Regions from separate parts of the Homo sapiens genome. Here regions 1, 3, 4, 5, 6 and 7 are each linked to region 2. The links are contacts of gene promoters, found by promoter capture Hi-C in blood cells and fetal thymus (Javierre and others, 2016). All regions are on one chromosome and are shown on one strand. Each heading gives the region's core, a stretch centred on a gene start or on the middle of the fragment in contact. The rest is flanking DNA. Distances are from core to core; before and after follow the strand shown.

The links. The method cuts DNA at HindIII sites, captures the fragments that hold promoters and counts their contacts. A CHiCAGO score of 5 or more calls a contact.
Region 1: a contact is called between the fragment with the promoter of NSUN7 here and the fragment with the promoter of CHRNA9 in region 2, in 9 of 17 cell types (neutrophils, total B cells, activated CD4 T cells and 6 more). The highest score is 9.4, in neutrophils.
Region 3: a fragment that was not itself captured here is called in contact with the fragment with the promoter of CHRNA9 in region 2 in 1 of 17 cell types (neutrophils); the score reaches 6.9 in neutrophils.
Region 4: a fragment that was not itself captured here is called in contact with the fragment with the promoter of CHRNA9 in region 2 in 2 of 17 cell types (naive CD8 T cells and non-activated CD4 T cells); the score reaches 6.2 in naive CD8 T cells.
Region 5: a fragment that was not itself captured here is called in contact with the fragment with the promoter of CHRNA9 in region 2 in 1 of 17 cell types (neutrophils); the score reaches 7.9 in neutrophils.
Region 6: a contact is called between a fragment that was not itself captured here and the fragment with the promoter of CHRNA9 in region 2, in 1 of 17 cell types (neutrophils). The highest score is 5.0, in neutrophils.
Region 7: a fragment that was not itself captured here is called in contact with the fragment with the promoter of CHRNA9 in region 2 in 2 of 17 cell types (endothelial precursors and total B cells); the score reaches 5.9 in endothelial precursors.

The regions. Positions count from the first base shown.
Region 1 is chr4:40,748,689-40,751,460 of GRCh38, forward strand. It overlaps NSUN7 (NOP2/Sun RNA methyltransferase family member 7), which reads left to right and starts at 1,267. Exons shown (of 12, transcript NM_024677.6): 1 at 1,267-1,612; 2 at 1,915-2,303. The coding sequence starts at 2,006. The HindIII fragment of the contact is 13,723 bases long and covers 1-2,772 here.
Region 2 is chr4:40,333,905-40,336,604 of GRCh38, forward strand. It overlaps CHRNA9 (cholinergic receptor nicotinic alpha 9 subunit), which reads left to right and starts at 1,429. Exons shown (of 5, transcript NM_017581.4): 1 at 1,429-1,627; 2 at 1,923-2,068. The coding sequence starts at 1,564. The HindIII fragment of the contact is 7,151 bases long and covers 1-1,806 here.
Region 3 is chr4:40,768,217-40,770,916 of GRCh38, forward strand. All of the region lies in intron 4 of NSUN7 (NOP2/Sun RNA methyltransferase family member 7), which reads left to right. Among named protein-coding and RNA genes, the nearest start is that of NSUN7, 20 kb to the left of the region's middle. The HindIII fragment of the contact is 3,396 bases long and covers 1-2,700 here.
Region 4 is chr4:39,982,286-39,985,006 of GRCh38, forward strand. No RefSeq gene overlaps it. Among named protein-coding and RNA genes, the nearest start is that of PDS5A, 5.7 kb to the left of the region's middle. The HindIII fragment of the contact is 449 bases long and covers 1,137-1,585 here.
Region 5 is chr4:40,845,756-40,848,526 of GRCh38, forward strand. The region is part of intron 12 of APBB2 (amyloid beta precursor protein binding family B member 2); the gene reads right to left. Among named protein-coding and RNA genes, the nearest start is that of NSUN7, 97 kb to the left of the region's middle. The HindIII fragment of the contact is 8,965 bases long and covers 1-2,771 here.
Region 6 is chr4:40,789,944-40,792,748 of GRCh38, forward strand. NSUN7 (NOP2/Sun RNA methyltransferase family member 7) reads left to right here. Exons shown (of 12, transcript NM_024677.6): 8 at 659-802. Among named protein-coding and RNA genes, the nearest start is that of NSUN7, 41 kb to the left of the region's middle. The HindIII fragment of the contact is 2,650 bases long and covers 231-2,805 here.
Region 7 is chr4:40,721,701-40,724,400 of GRCh38, forward strand. No RefSeq gene overlaps it. Among named protein-coding and RNA genes, the nearest start is that of NSUN7, 27 kb to the right of the region's middle. The HindIII fragment of the contact is 5,794 bases long and covers 1-2,700 here.

The DNA.
Region 1 (2,772 bases), core at 17-2,516, 410 kb after region 2:
GTATTCCGGGGATAATGAAAGTGGGTGGATTTCTGAGAGAAGGGGTCAGGGTTAGAGTTCTGTACTGCTAATTTTTTCCCCATTATCCATTCTCTCCTTCTTCTACAGTAATAGTTCCCTTATTTTTAGCTGGACACATTTACCAGCCTCTTGGTTGCTGGGTATATGACTGAGTTCTGACCAATAAAATGTGAGCCAAAGTGATATGTGCACCTTTCAGGTCATTGAAAAATATGGGCTGCCCTCTCTTTCCCCTTCATCCTACTAACCACTGGCTGGAAATGGAAATGGCCTTAGCCTAAAGAAGGAAGGGCAAATCCCTAAGGAGGAAAGGCAGAGGTGGAATTAGGACCAGTTGTCTTTCAACTATACCAGAGTTTTTCAAACTGTGGTCTTTGGGCTGATTGCATCAGAATCGCCAGTTACCTGATAAAAATGCAAATTACTGGGTCTTAGCAACTCAAATCTCTAGGATGGGTTCCAAGGATTTTTTTTTAGCTGGAGGCGGTGGTTCACGCCTGAAATCCCAGCACTTTGGGAGGCCGAGGAGGGAGGACTCCTTGAGCCCAGGAATTCGAGACCACCCTGGGCAACATAATGGGAACCCTGTCTCTGTTATTAAAAAAAATTATTACAGACGGCGCAGTGGCTCACGCATGTAATCCCAGCACGTTGGGAGGCCAAGGCCGGCAGATCACTTGACGTCAGGAGTTCGAGACTAACTTGATCAACACGGTGAAACCCTGTCTCTACTAAAAATACAAAAATTAGCAGGGTGTGGTGGCGGGCGCCTGTAGTCCCAGCTACTCGGGAGGCTGAGGCATGAGAATCACGTGAACCCGGGAGGAGGAGGCTGCAGTGAACCGAGATTGCGCCACTGCACTCCAGCCTGGGCGACAGAGCGAGACCATGTCTCAAAAAAAAAATTATTACTATATTTTAAAAATATTTTAAAGAATGTGTAGTTTTAACAGGGACTTCAGGAACTTGTGAGTTAAAACCACGGAACTACGTCAGACTACCTCAAAAATATCCCCAAATGTTTATAAACAAAGCCAAGGGCACGCACTCAGGCCCGGTGAGGTCCAGGAACTGTGCAAGAGGCCTCTGGCTCGGAGGGGCTGAAACAGGTGTCTCCGCGCGCTGGGGGAAGAGCGACTCTCCCGGCAACAGGTAGCACCCGCCAAATCCCGCGGGAACGGCCCTCGCGCCGCGCCCCCTGCCCCACCTCCGCTCGCGGTTGCCATGAAGACCCGGTCCGGGAGCAGTCGACTGCCGGAGACTCGGGAGGCTGAGCTTTCCTCGGCCTGAGCCAGCCAGACCCCGGGCACCGCGCTCACCCCTCTTCGCCGCCACGTCCGCGAAGGCCTCACGCGCGAGGCCAGGCGAGGCCCCGAGGCGCCCACCACTTCACGACACCGGAGCGAACCGGGCGCCAGAGGCTGCGACCCCCCTGCCCCGAATCCTGCCGGTGGGAGTGGCTGCATTTGAACCAAACGGCCTTCGCGGGCAGCAGCCGTCGCCCCGCAGTCCCGGGGCTCCCAAGGGCCTGTGACCGACGCCGCCCTCCGCGTCTTCGTCCCCGAAGCCCCGGGAACCATCCGCCCTCGGGGTAAGGGAGGAGTCGGGGGAGCCGGTGACTGGGCTGTGGGGACGCGGACGGGGCTCCGGGGGCAGCTCTGCCCCCAGACTGGCTTGAGGGAAGCCGTCGGTCTCCTTGGGGCTCTTCTCCCTCCGCCGCTGCACCCCTCCTCGCTTTTTTTTTTTTTTTTGAGCGTCCCAGGCTCGAAGTCTGGGACACTCAGATGGGACGGGAAATGCTCCCTCTTAGTCTTTAAGGCCACAACGAAGGGGGCCACCCACAGGGGTGCTGCAGAAAGAGTGATTTACTGCAATCACCTTCTCTCTTCACAGAGACCATGCTGCAGATGCGAGGAAAGCCGTTTCCTGGAACATCGGAATTCTAACCCCAGGGTGAAGGACTCACGACAGGCGAGGGGCAGACATGCTGAATTCCACGGGCGAACTGGAGTTTTCGAACGAAGAAGATCCCGAGATCATCTCCCAACTCACTTCCCTGCCTCTGTCCGGTGGGAAAAGCTCAGCTGGTGTGCCCGAAAAAACGGGCTATCCGGACTCCGTTTATGTCATGGCAGCCAACATTTTTCAGGGTATTCGAATCGAAAAGTCGGCACAGAAAGTCTTAATCAAGTATGGGAATGAACCCCTGCGGTCCTTGTCCGAGTCTGAGGATCAGTCCTTTCAGCGTTTGTCTTATGAGCTGGCTTTCAGTGCCCTGAAATGTGAGTTGTGCCAGTCTGGAAGATCAACACTAAAAGAAAATAATAGCGAGAGAATTTGGGGAATGCAGCCCTCCTCCTCCCTTCCCCTCATTCACACCAGGTTTTGGTTTTAGGCATGTGCATATCTTTGGTTAATTGCAAGTGTCAAGGAATTAGGGTTCCCATGAAACTAGCTCTTCCAGCCCAGGATTGCAGATTTCCCCGTGCACTGTGTTTGTCCTTAGATCGGTGTAGTGCGCGGTCATTACATTCAACAAGGAAACAATTTATTCCAATGATCATTTCCCTCTCCCTGTATTTTTTTTTCCCTCGTAGACTTAGGGGTCTCGCTTTATTGTCTGGGCTGGTCTCAAACTCTGGACCTCAAGGAATCCTCCCTCTTCAGCTTCCCAAAGTGCTGGGATTACAGGCAGTGAGCCACCACGCCTGGCCTCCCTGTGTATTTCTTTCCATTCCCTGTGTTTACCTT
Region 2 (2,700 bases), core at 179-2,678:
CACTCTGCATCCCTGGGCCTCAGTTTCCTCATATAGAAGTGAGGCATTAAACTCAATTTCAAAATTACCTTCTGCCTCTGAGATTCTGGAGCGGATGGTTTGCTGAAGGAGGACTGAGCGTGGGCACCCGGAATTGTGTCATTTGATGAATGAGTCAGACTAGGGGCGTCAGAAAAATAATGTCTTCACAATCAACACAATGGGATAGGCAATTAAGAAACACTTTGCCGATGGCTTGAGTGTCTGTTCCACTCAGAGGATACATTCCCGAAGAGGGATGGGGTGACTCATCAGGCGGCTGTAACCTGATGAAACAGAGCTATCCAATTTCCTCGCTCCAATTCCAGGCAACCAAATTATCTTAATATGGTTTTCCAAAGCAGTTTCCCCAGGCAAGAGGAGAGACAGACATGAGTTTCCAGACTAAGCAGCAATTGAAAATTGACATTTTTTTATAGGAGTAAAATTATATCACATATGAGAAATGACTGAAACTTTATATGAAGTAGCATTCAAATGCAAAGGGTGTCATCATTAGCAATATCACCATTGGTTATTATTCTCATGCTGATTTGGTCAGCCTTTGAACCAGTTTTTCTTTTTTTTTTTCGAGCTGGTAAATCCTGGGTGACTTGGTGAGTATAGAAATTCTGGGTATGCAAAGCTGATCAAAGATGATAATTACTGATATTTAGAAAGTGCTTTCACATACAGTTATCTCAGTAGCTCTAGAGAGAGAAAATATTATTTTCCCCAGTCTGTAGTTCTGGAAGGCTCAGAGAGGTTAGGTGACTTTTACAGAATAATAGAGCTCGTCAGGGTTTGGCTGGCAGTCAAACCCAGGTGGTCAAGTCCAAATCCAACTCACAGTGTTGCTGCTTCTTAAGCGAGTGATTATCCGCCCATCCAGCACACCCCCTCACATATATACTCACAAACATTTACTATGCAAGATCCATGCCCAGTGGGACAGCTGCAGGAGGGATCAGAAGCTGAGGCAGAGAAAAAACCAAAATGCCAATATATTCTGGAGATCATAGAACCGTGTCTCTTTCCCTCTTCAAATGCTGCTAAAAGCACGTAGAGTCTTTCTGGACAGCCGTCCCATGGCTCAGTCTTTTAGGCTTCCCTTAGTCCCTGGACTCAGGCTGACTCTGCTCATGGTGGGTGTAGAAATCTCCCATTCTGCTTAGATGGAGTCTCTGGGGTGTCAGGCATACCCCTGTTGCCTGCATCTACCTCCTTTTCTGTCTGGTTGTTTCTGCTGAGGGTGGCTAGGGACCCTCAACTGAGATGGCCCCCCACAACAGCACTGTTGGACCTAACACACCCTGGGTTCCCGGCTTCTCAGCCACTGGAGCTGCCAGTCTCAAATTACCGGAGGGGAGGGAGGGCAGGCCTGGATCTCAGGATCTCGGTCCTGCATGCAATGCAAGCCTGAGCTCTCCCGCCATAAGGCTGCAGCGGTGTGGGCTCCTTGTGCCCAGATCCTTTGTATTCATAGGGGGAAGTGGAAGACCACGCTGCCTGACTGAGACTTTATTATAGAGGCTCAGGAAAAAGATGAACTGGTCCCATTCCTGCATCTCCTTTTGCTGGATCTACTTTGCTGCTTCCAGACTGAGAGGTGAGAGGCTGGTGACACGTAACCTATCTTGTCTCATCTGGGGCTATTGCTTTGGTGGGAGGTGGGGCAGGACAGGGAAGACAAAACAGATGATTCAACCGCATGGAAGTGTTCTGTGCTTCCTACTGACTCTGATCTTGGTAGGGCATGCCAGAAAAACAACTCATCCATCCACCCAAAGCTTGTCCCTCGCCAGTGTTGGGCCATCCCCCATTTTAGACCTCAGTCTTGTGTTGTTTGTCTTGAAATACACACAACACTCTGAATGTTAATCCAGATCCCTCTTGTTGAGTAGCTGCAGAGACGGCAGATGGAAAATATGCTCAGAAGTTGTTTAATGACCTTTTTGAAGATTATTCTAATGCTCTTCGTCCAGTGGAAGATACAGATAAAGTCCTGAATGTGACCCTGCAGATTACGCTCTCTCAGATTAAGGATATGGTGAGTAACACATGGTGCTGACTCTGTGGAATGATTCTTAGAGGATAAACAACCATGCTTTCTGAAGAGAATGTCTTAACTGGGAATTTGAGAGGGAATGATAGCTCCTTAAGCAAGCTGGTGGGAGAAGAGAATGTCGGGAAAAGGAAGCTTTCTACAAAACTAATTAATTTCAAGAAACGTTACCTAATCCTGGTCATTAACTGTAACAGTCTTAGATAATCTAAAGAAAGATGGGGTTACATACTGTATGCAGCCATTTATATAAAATGTCCAAAAGAGGTAAATCCGTAGAGACAGAAAACGGCATAGAGGTTGCCGGGGTCTGTGGGGAGGACGGGGAAAACGGCCAGTGAGTTCTTAATGATTACGGCGTTTCTTTGCGGGGGGAAGAAATGATCTTGAATTAGGCAGTGGTGATGGTTGCACAACGTTGTGAATATATTGGAAGCCGGTGCATTGTTCCCTTCGAAAATGATTAAAATGGTGAGTTTTAATGTGAATTTGATCTTAATTTTTTTTTTGAGACGGAGTCTTGCTGTCACCCAGGCTGGAGTGCAGTGGCATGATCTCCGCTCACTGTAAGCTCTGCCTCCTGGGTTCACACCATTCTCCTGCCTCAGCCTCCTGAG
Region 3 (2,700 bases), core at 134-2,633, 430 kb after region 2:
TTTGAGACGGACTCTTGCTCTGTCGCCCATGCTGGAGTGCAATGGCACAATCTCGGCTCACTGCAACCTCCACCTCCTGAGCTCAAGCAGTTCTCCTGCCTCAGCCTCCCAAGTAGCTGGGATTACAGGTGTGCGCCATTATGCCTGTGTTTTTGTAGAGATGGGGTTTCAGCATGTTGGCCAGGCTGGTCTCAAACTCCTGACCGCAGGTGATCCTCCCGCCTCGGCCTCCTAGAATGCTGGGATTACAAGTGTGAGCTGCCGTGCTCGGCCAGATAAAGACTAACTCTAAGAGGTTATAGAAGAAGAAGTAATTAGCAAGAAGCTGAATGAGAATGATTTCCTCCTTGTAAAAGTGGTTTGACCTTTGTTGTTGTTCCTCCTGGGAATCCTTGTGTTTTTTCACTCTTATACCCCTAAGCACCAACATGTATCTTTTTCTTCACTTATTCGTGGGTTTAGACATGTAATCCAAGATGATACCTATTATCATTTTTTTTACATATGAAAGGTCTTTAAGAACCCATTCTTTGTATAAAATGTAACTGTCTTTTTAATACTGTGTGACCAGGTTAAAAAAAGAGAGACCACAACCCCTTGTTTCTCACTCCCCATGCCTTTCCACCAGCCCAATAATCTATTTCTATTAAATTATTTGTTGGACTGTTGTGAGGCAGCAATTGGAAAATAAGCAGTGAAAAAGTAGAGAAAGGAGGGGAAAGACTTAGTCAGTTCTTCTTCCAAACCACCCCAAAACCATTTATTCTGATGTCTTCCACTTCACAGCTAAGGCATCACCATCTACCTAGACATCATCCTTGATTCTTCTTTCCTCCCCTCCCCTGCACTCAATCTGTGTCTAATGCATCAAGTCCTGTAACTCCAATTCAAAAACATACACTGAGCCTGTGTGCTTCTTTCCATTTCCACTACTACCATCCAAATCTATGCCACCATAATCTATCACTTGGACTACCATGATAGCTTCCTTAGATACATTTCCCTGGCCTATAACTCTCACTTTCCTGCAATCTATTCCACATGGCAGGTAGAGTGATATTTTCAAAATGTAATTGTATGGTCATGATAGAATATCTTGGATCAGTCTTCCCCTTCTACTGTAAACAACTAGAAAACTGGCCAAAATATATCATAGGACGTAAAGGTTTTGGACATTAGACAAGAAGCAGCACAGAAACCTGATCCCTGAAAGAACAAAACAAATGAGGTGAGCCCTAGAATAGTCCTGGCTTTATGCCTGGAAGAATTCTCAAACTGCAATGCAGAAAGTAGAAAACAGCAGTCTTGCTGAGTTAAGAAAACAGAGAACAGTTTTAGAAGACTGAAGTGATTGTTTTTCTTCTTTATTGTATTAAGTGGCCAGGTGATTTACATTGACTGGTTTATGAATGTTAAACCAGCCATGCATTTTTGGGATAAGGCACATTTGCTCAGATATATTCTTTTTCTTATCTTCCCCAGTTTCTCTCATTCCCCATAATGCTCCAGAATTTCTAATTGCCAAAATGCCCTTTAAATACTTGTTCATGGGTTTTATCTCTCACATTCTCTCCGCTCCTTCTTCAGAAACTCTTCACCTGTTTCACTTACCTAGTAAAGAGTCTGAAGCAGATGACTGATTTTACATTTTTCTGGGAAATTCAAGCAGTTCATTGAAGATTATCTTTTGGCATTAAGAAAATGCAATCAAGGTCAGGCGTGGTGGCTCACGCCTGTAATCCCAGCACTTTGGGAGGCCGAGGCGGGTGGATCTCCTGAGGTCGGGAGTTCGAGACCAGCCTGGACCAACATGGAGAAGCCCCATCTCTACTAAAAATACAAAATTAGTCAGGCGTGGTGGTGCATGCCTGTAATCCTACCTACTTGGGAGGATGAGGCAGGAGAATCACTTGAACCCGGGAGGCGGAGGTTGCAGTGAGCCAAGATCATGCCACTGCACTGCAGCCTAGATAACAAGAGGGAAACTCCATCTCAAAAAAAAAAAAAAAAAAAGAAATTGCAATCAAGTGTCACTTAATGATGGGGATACATTCTGAGAAATGTGTCGTTAGGTGATTTCTTCTGATGGGAACATCGTAGAACATACTTACACAAATCTAGATGGTATAACCTACTGCACACCTATCCTATATGGTATAACCTAGTGCTCCTAGGCTACAAACCTGCACAGCATGTTATGTACTGAATACTGTAGGCAATTATAACACTATGGCAAGTATTTGTGTATCTAAACCTATTTAAATATAGCAAAGGTACTACCGTAGTAAACTTTTATGGGACCACCATCATAAACAGAGTTCATCATTGACCTAAATGTCATTATGCAGCAGATGACTTTATTCAATTTATATTTAAAGAGAACCACAGTTCTGATATGTTAGACATTAGTAATGCCATTCAAAAACTTGAGTCAAAAACTACATAAATATTTCTGAAAATTTAAAAAATGTAAATGTATATTACAAAAAGCCAAAAGAAGTAGTAAAAAGCCAAAAAAGAGTAATATCAATTTCATTTAAAAATAAACTGAGGTGGCTGGGCACGGTGGCTCACACCTGTAATCCCAGCACTTTGGGAGGCCAAGGTGGGCGGATCGTGAGGTCAAGAGATCGAGACCATCTTGGCCAACATAGTGAAACCCCATCTCTACTAAAAATACAAAAATTAGCCAGGTGTGGT
Region 4 (2,721 bases), core at 111-2,610, 350 kb before region 2:
TGGTGGGGTGGCGCACACCTGTAGTCCTAGCTACTTGGGAGGCTGAGGCATCAGAATTGCCTGACTCTGGGAAGCAGGGGTTGCAGTGAGCCGAAATTGCACCACTGCACTCCAGCCTGGGCGACAGAGAAAGACTCCGTCTAAAAAAAAAAAAAAGACCTGAGCACGGTGGCTCACGCCTGTACTCCCAGCACTTTGGGGGGCCGAGGCAGGCAGATAACCTCAGGTCAGGAGTTTGAGACCAGCCTGGCCAACCTGGTGAAACCCCATCTCTACTAAAAATACAAAAATTAGCTGAGCAGGGTAATGGGCACCTGTGTAATCCCAGCTATTCAGGAGGCTGAGACAGGAGAATCACTTGAACCTGGGAGGCAGAGCTTGCAGTGAGCTGAGATCGTGCCATTGCACTCCAGCCTTGGTGACACAGTGAGACTCAGTCTCAAAAAAAAGAAAAAAAAAAAAAAAAGAAGAAGAAAGTAAGAAATTCTAGAGCAAAAATCTAGGGCAGTTCTGTCCAATAGAAATTTCTGCAGCAATAGAAATGTTCCACACATACATTGTCCAGAATAGTAGCCACCAGCCATACGTGACTGTGCAGCACTTGGAAAGTGGCTAGTGCCACGAGAGAAGTGAATTTTTAATTTAATTTATTTTGATTACTTTCTTTTGTTGTTGTTGTTATGAGACAGTCTTGCTCTGTTGCCCAGGCTGGAGTGCAGTGGCACAATCTCGGCTAACTACAACTTCCGCCTCCTAGGTTCAAGTGATTCTCCTGCCTTAGCCTCCTGAGAAGCTGGGATTACAGGTGCCCGCCACCACCCGGCATATTTTTGTATTTTTAGTAGAGATAGGGTTTCCCATGTTGGCCAGGATGGTCTTGAACTCCTGACCTCAAGTGATCTGCCCACCTGGGCCTCCCAAAGTGCTGGGATTACAGGCATGAGCCACCAAGCCTGACCCTAAATATTTTCAAGTATGAAAAAAACTGCAGGTATAAGTGACATGGATAAATCTTAGTGACATAAAGTTCAACAGCAAGGTTCAGGATAATGGTTACCCTTAGAGTACAAGGAGAAGCAGGGAACACAGTGAGACAACACGGGAGAATGAATATATTGGTAGATGTATTCTGTTGAAGCTTTATTCTTGGGTGAGATGGTGACTTCACATATGCTAGCTATGCTAAAGAATGAATGGTTGAATGACTAAAGGCAACCCATGGACTAATGAGAGATGTGTTCATAACCCAAGAATTATAATTAATCTAGTCAGAGCACATGAGGTCCAGAAGAGAAAAAAATAAAACCAAACTCAACAAATTTCCAAACATTTTAATATTGTAATTTAATATTTTTTCAATTATATCCCCTGAAGTCAAAGAAATTATACCCTCATGATAATTATAATTTTTGTCTAGTAATGGTAGTACCATAAGAAATTATTTAGAGTTATATTTTGTACAAATGCCACTTTTTAACCCTTTCTCAAGTTGCTAGTATTAGGATGACAGATGATTATAGGACTGAAAGAGTTTTCAGAGTAAATAAAATTTCAACAATCACATTGCAGTGCATTTTTGTTATGAAGCTTGGGATGTTAGCCTCCTGTTGTCCTATATAACTTAAAATAGGCTGGGCATGGTGGCTCACGCCTGTAATTCCAGCACTTTGGGAAGCCAAGGTGGGCAAATCACTTGAGGCCAAAAGTTCGAGACCAGGCTGGCCAACATGTCGAAACCCCATCACTACTGAAAGTACAAAAATTAGCTTGTGGTGGTAGCACACACCTGTAATCCCAGCTACTCGCGAGGCTGAGGCAGTAGAATGGCTTGAACCCAGTAGGCAGAGGTTGCAGTGAGCCAAGATCATGCCACTGCACTCCAGCCTGGGCAACATCAATGAAGCTCCATCTCAAAAAAAAAAATTTTTTTTGAGACGGAGTCTCGCTCTGTCGCCCAGGCTGGAGTGCGGTGGCGCGATTTCGGCTCACTGCAACCTCCGCCTCCCGGGTTCACGCCATTCTCCTGCCTCAGCCTCCCGAGTAGCTAGGACTACAGGCGCCCGTCACCACGCCTGGCTAATTTTTGGTATTTTTAGTAGAGTCAGGATTTCACCGTGCTAGCCAGGATGGTCTCGATCTCCTGACCTCGTGATCCGCCCCCTTGGCCTCCCAAAGTTCTGGGATTACAGGCGTGAGCCACCATGCCCGGCCACAAAAAAAAATTTTTTTTTAAACTTAAAATAATTGGCCAAGTGAGGTGGCTAATGCCCATAATCCCAGCATTTTCGAAGGCCAAGGCAGGAGGATCACTTTAGCCCAGGAGTTCAAAATCAGCCTGAGCAAGATAGTGAGACTTTGTCTCTACTAAGAATAAAAAATTAGGCCAGGCGCAATGACTCACGCCTGTAATTCAAGCACTTTGGGAGGCTGAGGTGGGTGGATCACTTGAGGTCAGGAGTTCGAGACCAGCCTGGCCAACATAGCGAAACCCCCTCTCCACTAAAAATACAAAAAATTAGCTGGGCATGGTAGCGGGCACCTGTAATCCCAGCTACTTGGGAGGCTGAGGCAGGAGAATTGCTTGAACCCAGGAGGCAGAGGTTGCAGTGAGCTGAGATCAGGCCATTGGACTCCAGCCTGGGCAACAGAGCAAGACTCTGTTACACAGACACACAAAATTGTTTTCTTCATGTAAAATCTCTTTTATCTGAGCTAATTTGC
Region 5 (2,771 bases), core at 122-2,621, 510 kb after region 2:
CCAGTAGACTTCTCACTCCATTTTTGCAGAAGTCTCTGTTGCATGCTTCTTTTTGATGTTTGTCTTTCATCACTGGCCATCTCTCTAGCCTTTTGAGCACACATCACACCATTATCCACAGGACAATGAAGTAAACACTGCAAAACTTTACATCATGAAAATTCTTGCACCAGCTCCTGAGTCTGACAGTTTATTTTTTCCCTCCAGCTTCAGGGGTGGGTAGGTGGGTGTGGGTGGGTGGGTGGGTGGGTGTGAGTGGGGTGTGTGTGTGTGTGTGTGTGTGTGTGTGTGTCATTTATCAGCTGTCTGCCCTTGGTCAGGGCCCTTAGCCTCTTTGTTTTTCAGTTTCTTCATCTGTGAAATGGGAATCATAGAGGCCTTCAGGTCCTGAGAGTGCCATAAAATTCCATTATTTAATCCATATAAAGCTCCTACAGGATGGCGGCTTGAGTATGGCCTTACAGTGCAGGCCAGGCCAATCACTATGTGAGAGAGGGAAGGGGAGCTCCACGAGGAGAAAGGAAAGGTTCCTGACCTGTTTTGGATCAAGGCCCTCGGATGAAAACACTCCAAAAAAAAAAAAAAAAAAAAAAGTGCACAGACTCACAATTTTATACACAATTTTGGAAGGGGGCAGAGCTGGAACAGTTCAGTGATTCTTGAAACTCAATCCCAGGTCCCTTTAGAATCTACATGCCGCAGGTGAAAGGCCTCTGAACTGAAATGAATACTGAATTTATGCAAATTTACCATCTGATTTCTGGCTGATATTTAGAGAATTCATCTCAGGGAAAGGTTCTATCCTTCCCAGGATCAACCGGTGACATGAACAACCGTCTCTGACCAAGTGTGCCTTCCTTTCCAAAGCAAGCTCCCCTCCCACCTCACTGTCCTGCCCAGCAGCGCCATGATGGGAAAGTTAGACTTCCAGCACTTAGAAGTGTAAAGCCAGGAGTTAAAGTGGTTGAGGTTATTGAAATTCAAGGCACATTATTCTAAACAAAGGACTTTCTCATGCCATTGGAGGGAAGACACAATAGTTACCAGCCTGCTTACTAATGAGGAGGAGGGAAAAAGGATATTTAAAAGCAACCAGGAAACGAGTATTTTTAAAAGTCCATCTTTGAAGACTTTAAGCAAGAATTAACGAGCTTCAGCTTTCATCTGTGCTATATCACAGATTAAAAAAAAAACAAAAAACCAAATGCAAAAATCTTGCATCTCTGAATATCTGAGAGAAGAATACACACACAAATTATAGTTAGTTATTAAGTGAGAGATAATTTACACCATGTTCCAGTTTCAACTTTAAAGTTTAGGGTATAATGAAAGGATAACGTTATATAAATTCTACCTGAACTGTGAAACCATGGGTTAGCTTCCTTTCTGAAAGCCAAGATGGTAAAACAAAAATAAAAAATACCAGGTCAGGCATGGTGGCTCACACTTGTAATCCCAGCACTTTGGGAGGTTGAGGCAGGTGGATTACTTGAGGCCAGGAGTTCAAGACCAGCCTGCCAACATGACGAAACCCTGTCTCTACTAAAAATACAAAAATTAGCCAGGCATGGTGGCGCACACCTGTAGTCCCAGCTACTCAGGAGGCTGAGACGTGAGAATCACTGCAACCCGGGAGGTGGAGGTTGCAGTGAGCTGAGATCGTGCCTCTGCACTCCTGCCTGGGTGACAGAGCAAGACCGTCTCAAAAAAATAAAACAACACGAAACACCTTGACACCAGAAGGCTCCTATCTGACAAAGCACAGGAACGCATAAGGATTTAGAACTGATTCTGAGCAGGGAAAATGACAGCACAGTGGTTTCCATGCCAGAATGCCATGAGGGTACAAACTCCTGGCAAGGTGCAGACAAGCCTCCTACTTAAAACCACGGTGAGCACCCAGCCACATGGAGGACCTCTTGTGGATATGGTGAATCACTTTCTGAATTTTCAAGGGGCTTTCTTTGTGCCAGTTCAAAGGAGTACTAGGGTAGATAACATGGAAAGCCAATACATATGGCCTTCATTTGAATTGTTTGTTGTTTTTGCTTGCTTTTTTTTTTTTTTAAGAGATGGGATCTCGCTCTGTTGCCCAGGCAGGAGTCCAGTAGCACGATCATAGCTTACTGCATCCTCAAACTACTTGGCTCAAGCAATCCTCCGGCCTCAACCTCCCAAGTAGCGGGGGCTATAGGTGTTTGCCATCATACCCGGCTAATTTTTTATTTGTTGTAGAAATGAGGTCTCACTATGTTGCAAAGGTTGGTCTCAAACTTTTGGGCTCAAGCAATCCACCCACCTCAGCTTCTCAAAAAAGTATTTGGATTACAGGCATGAGCCACTATGCCCAGTCCTGAATTTTGTTAACTTCCATCTAGATACAAGTATTTCTGGTATAATGTAAACTCAATAATATCTAAAGAAAAGCAGACACCAACCCTAGGAAGGCTGATTACCACTAACCAAGTAACAGTAGCGGCTCCTGGCTATGATTGCTTCTGTCTAGCCAGGCTCTATTCTTGCTGCGCACTGTCGCCAAGCCACACAATAACCTTGCAGGGGGAAGCATCACGACTCATTTTACAAATGAGGAATTGAAGGGTCAGAGAGTTTAAGTTGACTTGCTCCAAAGCCCACAGCTAGCAGGTGGTAGATCTGCAAACAGAACACAGGCCTGCTGGCTGGGCTCTTTCCTGCCGTGTAGCTCTGGGGCACCTAGCACCTGAGCCTGGCTCCCTCCCAGTTAATTGGCTCTGCTCAGGACCCCATCC
Region 6 (2,805 bases), core at 306-2,805, 460 kb after region 2:
AGACTCTCTTAAGCTAAGTCACAAGATCCTTAAAGGTATGATTGATGTTTTACACCAGTTTGTATGGATTCTGTACCTTGGACTGGAAACTTATAAGTGCTTCTGATAACCCTCCCCCACCTTTTTTTTTTTTTTTTTTCTGGAGAGAAGATAGAACATAAAAGGGGATAAAGAATAGGAGAGGGAAATAACCAATATTGAGCCCTTGCTATATAATAGACAGCACGCTAAGCTTAACTACTTTATCTCAGTCTTCACCACAGTTATATGAGGTAGCCATCCCATTTTATGAAGAAGGAAATGGAGGCTCAGGGAGATTAAAATGCACAGCTAGTAAACAGTGAAGCTGGGAGTCAACTTGAATTTTTCTGCCTCTGAAGTCTATTTCTCCCCTACTATATATCCTGCAGTTCAGAATGAGAATTTAATTTTAAATTTCAACATCATTTCAGGTGAAGGAGAAAACATTCTATTAATAGGATTCCTGTATTAACTTTGGGTAGATATCAGAGAAGAATAGCCTTCTTTTCTAACTACATCAAAATGAATTTTTGTGAGGTTGAGGATTTTAAAATGTACAATAAATAGATACAATCACATACTACATTAAGATTTTTCATTAATATTTTACATTAAATTTTCTGTGTTTTTTCCCCAGATATTGAAATACTTCATGAGAAATTTATTAACATTGAATCAAAGGATCACAGGTTACAGAAAGTTAAAGTGATTTTGCTGCTACCTCGTTGTTCAGGACTGGGTGTTAGTAATCCAGTAGAATTTATTTTAAATGAACATGAAGGTACTTGTTTTAATTTCTAAATTATTGAAATTAGTTGACAGTTTAAAATATAAAATTATTTAAAATCATTAAAATAGCATATCAAATACATCTGATTAATAAATAATAGCAACCACATATAAAGTACTTACTATGTATAAAGTCCTTTACCTCTGTTACCTCATTTAATCCTTACACCAATCCAATAGACCAGGGTGATATTCAAAATATTTAATAATTGGAATAATGTAGGCAATCAGAAAAGATGCTGGCCAGTATGCTATTCTGAATATACCAGAGCTCTTGATGTAAGTGTTAAAATTTACCGGCATTCTATAGATGAAAATACTGAGACTCAAAGATTGATTCATTTTTCTCAGGTCAAGCAACTAGAGACAGAGCTAAGATTCAAATTTAGATCTGTTTGACTCTAGAGCCTATGTTCTAAACATGATTCTAATTAAATCATTATCAGATTATTTCAAACTCAAAGGTGTCTTAATCGCTAGGATGTATGCTTTATGAAATGAATGTCTCAGACTAAATATAGAAGCATTGACATTTAATTTTATTGGCTTTTAAATACATTTAAAATAATAATTATTTAACATTAACATTTATTGAGCACTTAGATGTAAGGCCCTGGGCGTGGCACTTTTCTTGGATTATTTCAGTAAGTCTTCACAAGAATTCTGTGAAGTAGTAACTTGTTAACTTCTATTTTACAAATGAGGAATCTGAGGCTCAGAGAAGTTAATGAAGTCTCCTAGGATCATTGGGCTAGTAAGAGGCAGAGCTTGGATTCAAATACAACCAGTCTGACTCTGAGACTGGCACTTTTAATGACTCTCTTAATCACATTATATTGCTCCAAATTAAATGAAACTTATGCTTATCCCTTGCTTATATTGAAAGGCATATTAAATTGAAAGGTTAATTAGAATATTAGAAAAAGAAGACACCCCACAAATGTACAGAATATAGTAACTGTTTTCTGTTTCTAGCAAGGACAGAAGAGGAAAAGAAATGGAGGGAAAAGAGCTAATATTTATTAAACACAATAATGTCCCAGGCAATATTCTAGGTAGTGTTCACATACTGTCACTTAGTATTCACAATAACTTTTTGAGGTTAGTGTTCTTCTAATTGTAGAGGAAAAAAACCAAGACTCAGAAAAATTAAACCAGTTGCTTATGGTCATGTAGCTAGTAAGTAGGGAAGCTGGGATTCAAATTCAGGTGGGTTAGCACATTTTCCTTCCACTAAACGACACTATCTTTAACTGGGTTTACACTGTACCACATGGAATTTTGACTTGCTATAGAAAATTTCTTTCCAGAGAGACTTCAGCCAAAGAATAACCAATTCAGATGGTAGAATGGTAGGTAGGCTGAGAAAATTTCTAGATGAACTTTAAGAAATAATCAAAGAACAATTAGTAGACACTGAAAGAAAAGGGGGAAGGAAAAAAGGGGGAAGAAATAGCAGCTATAATAAGCATAGCAGTCAGGAGAACTAGAGCTCAGAACTGTGAGACTCTGGCCTTATCCTGGGCCATTTTGAGGTGGAAATCCAGAAAAAAAATAAACCACAGAATAAAAATAAACTAAAGGCTAGAGGAGAAAGGCCCAGAGGAAAATACAAATAAGGAAAGTGGGGAAAGGAAAACATTTCCTAGGTACTGGTAATGTTTTGAAAGCCTTGATGAGGAGATGATAGGATAAGCTAAGAAGTTGTCGTATACTGGCCGGGAGCGGTGGCTCACGCCTGTAATCCCAGCACTTTGGGAGGCCGAGGAGGGCGGATCACGAGGTCAGGAGCTCGAGACCATCCTGGCTAACACGGTGAAACCCCGTCTCTACTAAAAATACAAAAAATTAGCCGGGCGAGGTGGCGGGCGCCTGTAGTCCCAGCTACTCGGGAGGCTGAGGCAGGAGAATGGCTTGAACCCCGGGGGGCGGAGCCTGCAGTGAGCCGAGATCGCGCCACTGCACTCCAGCCTGGGCGACAGCAAGACTCCATCT
Region 7 (2,700 bases), core at 41-2,540, 390 kb after region 2:
ACCATGTTGGCCAAGCTGGTCTCGAACTCCTGACCTCAAGTGATCCGCTCGCCTCGGCCTCCTGAAGTGCTGGGATTACAGGTGTGACTCACCATGCCTGGCCCTGAACCTCCCCCTTTTTTACTGACTGACTTCTTTTTCTCATTTAAACTTAGTTAACCCTGTCCCACCTTTTCTATTTGTTTGTTTTAAGAACCAACTCTATTTGACTCCACATTTCCCTCTGGTTATGTCACAGATCTACTTCATAAAAGAATGGTTTCCACTGCCTGACTTACTCATCTGCTTACTGAAATCTGGGTTTCCACTGAAATCTCCTAAGTTACTAACAACTTCCTTGTTACTAAATTCAATAGCAAATTTCAGTCCTTGCTCTACTGACCTCTCTTTAGCAGCTGACACATTTGACCACTTCTTTCCTTGGCCTCTGTGACTCGATGATCCTACGATTCTCCTCATTCCTCTTGGCCTCACCTCTGTTTCCTTTTCTGGCTCCTCCCTTCTGTCTTTCTCTGACTTGTTAGTGTTTCCCCATGGTTCTACCAAAAGATAAGAGATCCCTTCTCTTTTCATTCTACTTTCCCTGGATCTGATCTCCTCCCATGGCTACAATTACCATCCCCAGGTGGATGACTAGTGATGGTTCCAGGCCAAGTCTTTGCATCTAGTAGGCATATTTGTTTGAATATCTTTGGAAGTATCATGATCGTAACATTTCTAAACTGAAAGCTCCCCAAATCGCCTCCCTTTCTGTGCTCCTGGAACAGTGAAGGGCCCCAAGTTGCCCATGCCAGAACCTTGATTCCTTTTCTCTGATACCTCATTCCAATTAATCACTAAGTCCTGCTGATTCAACTTCACATCTCTTACTCCTGTCTACCTCTCATCATCCTCAGGGTTACCACCCTGGTTCAGGCACACTACCTCTCACCAAGGTTATCCTTCCTGGTCTCCTAACCGGTCTTTCCACTTCCAGCCTTGCCTCACCCCAATCCATCCTACATTCTGCAGTGATGTCTCAAAAACGCAAATGTGATCATGTCATTTGCCTCTTCAACAGCTTCTGATGGTTCCCCTTTGTTTTGTCACATGAGTGGTCTGACCCTCATCTGCCTCTTCCTGCTCCCCACCGCATTTCCACTGATCTAAACTTTTTTCAGTTCCCTAAGCATACCATGTGCTGTTTCATCTGTGGGCCTTTAACTATACTGTTTACTTTGCCAAGAACACCATAATTTACTTCCTGGTGAATAGAGACAGGAAGTAAATTATATTCATAATCTCTCTTACCGTAACTTACTGCTTCTTAGACATTACTTACTGCTTCTTAGAAATTACTTCCTGCATAAGTGCCGCTGACCCAGCCCCCTCCACCTCCTGCAATGTTTGTTTAACTTGTCTGTCTCCCTGATAAACACTAACCTCCATAAGGACTGGGACCTTGTCTATTCTCTTCACCCCTGTATCCCCATTGATTTAAATCAATAACTCCATCCTCATTCTACCCCCTGCAGCCCCTGGCAATCAATCACCAATTTACTGTCTCTATGGAATTCAACCTCCCTCAGCAAGTTGCCAGTGGGAAATACTGAGCCTAGACCTACTATTAACTTTTAAAATAAGAATATTGAGTTAGTAATTAAGTGCCAATTATTAAACTTTTTTGTGCCTTATTTCCTTAACTTTGAAAGGATGCCTACTCATTCAAGGGCCCAAGCCAGATGACCTGCAGGGGTTTTTTTTGGTTTTGTTTTTTTTCTTTTTTGAGATTGTGTTTCGCTCTTGTTGCCCAGAGTGCAATGGTGTGATCTCGGCTCACCGCAAACTCTGCCTCCTGGGTTCAAATGATTCTCCTGCCTCAGCCTCCAGAGTAGCTGGAATTACAGGCACATGCCACCACGCTCGGCTGATTTTGTATTTTTAGTAGAGACAGGGTTTTTCCATGTTGGTCAGGCTGGTCTCGAACTCCTAACCTCAGATGATCCACCTGCCTCGGCCTCCCAAAGTGCTGGGATTACAGGCATGAGCCGCCGAACCCAGCCTGACCTGTAGTTTTAATTGCTTGACAGTCATATAAAACTTTGCCTTATTCAGCTTCTCATTTATGGTTCTGGTCAATTCATAGAATTTCCACTTACAGGAATGTCAGTTTCTGTGGCAGGAAGCAAAACCTCTCAGTATGCTCTGAGGAACCTTCCATGACTGCCATGACCAGTTCCTCAAGTCCCTGCCTTCCAGCCTACACTCTTCCCTATTCTCTAAATATGAGTTTCTTCCACTCTGATTTCAAGGAACTTGGATTATGGCAAGTCAACTTTTGAGACAGGGTCTCACTCTGTCACTCAGTCTGGAGTGCAGTGGCACAATCTTGGCTCACTGCGATCTCCAGTTCCAGGACTCAAGCCAGCCTTCCACTTCAGCCTCCTGAATAGCTGGGACCACAGGCACGCACCACCGGACCCAGCTAATTTTTCTGTATTTGTAGAAATGGGGTTTCACCATATCACCCAGGCTGGTCTTGAACTCCTGAGCTCAAGTGATCCTCCCGCCTCGGCCTCCCAAAGTGCTGGGATTACAGATGTCAGCCACTGTGCCAGGGGCAAGTCAACATTTTAAAACCTGTCTTACTTAAAAAAAAAATTTTTTTTAAATAAATGAATAAATAGGCCAGGTGTGGTGGCTCACGCTTCTAATTCCAGC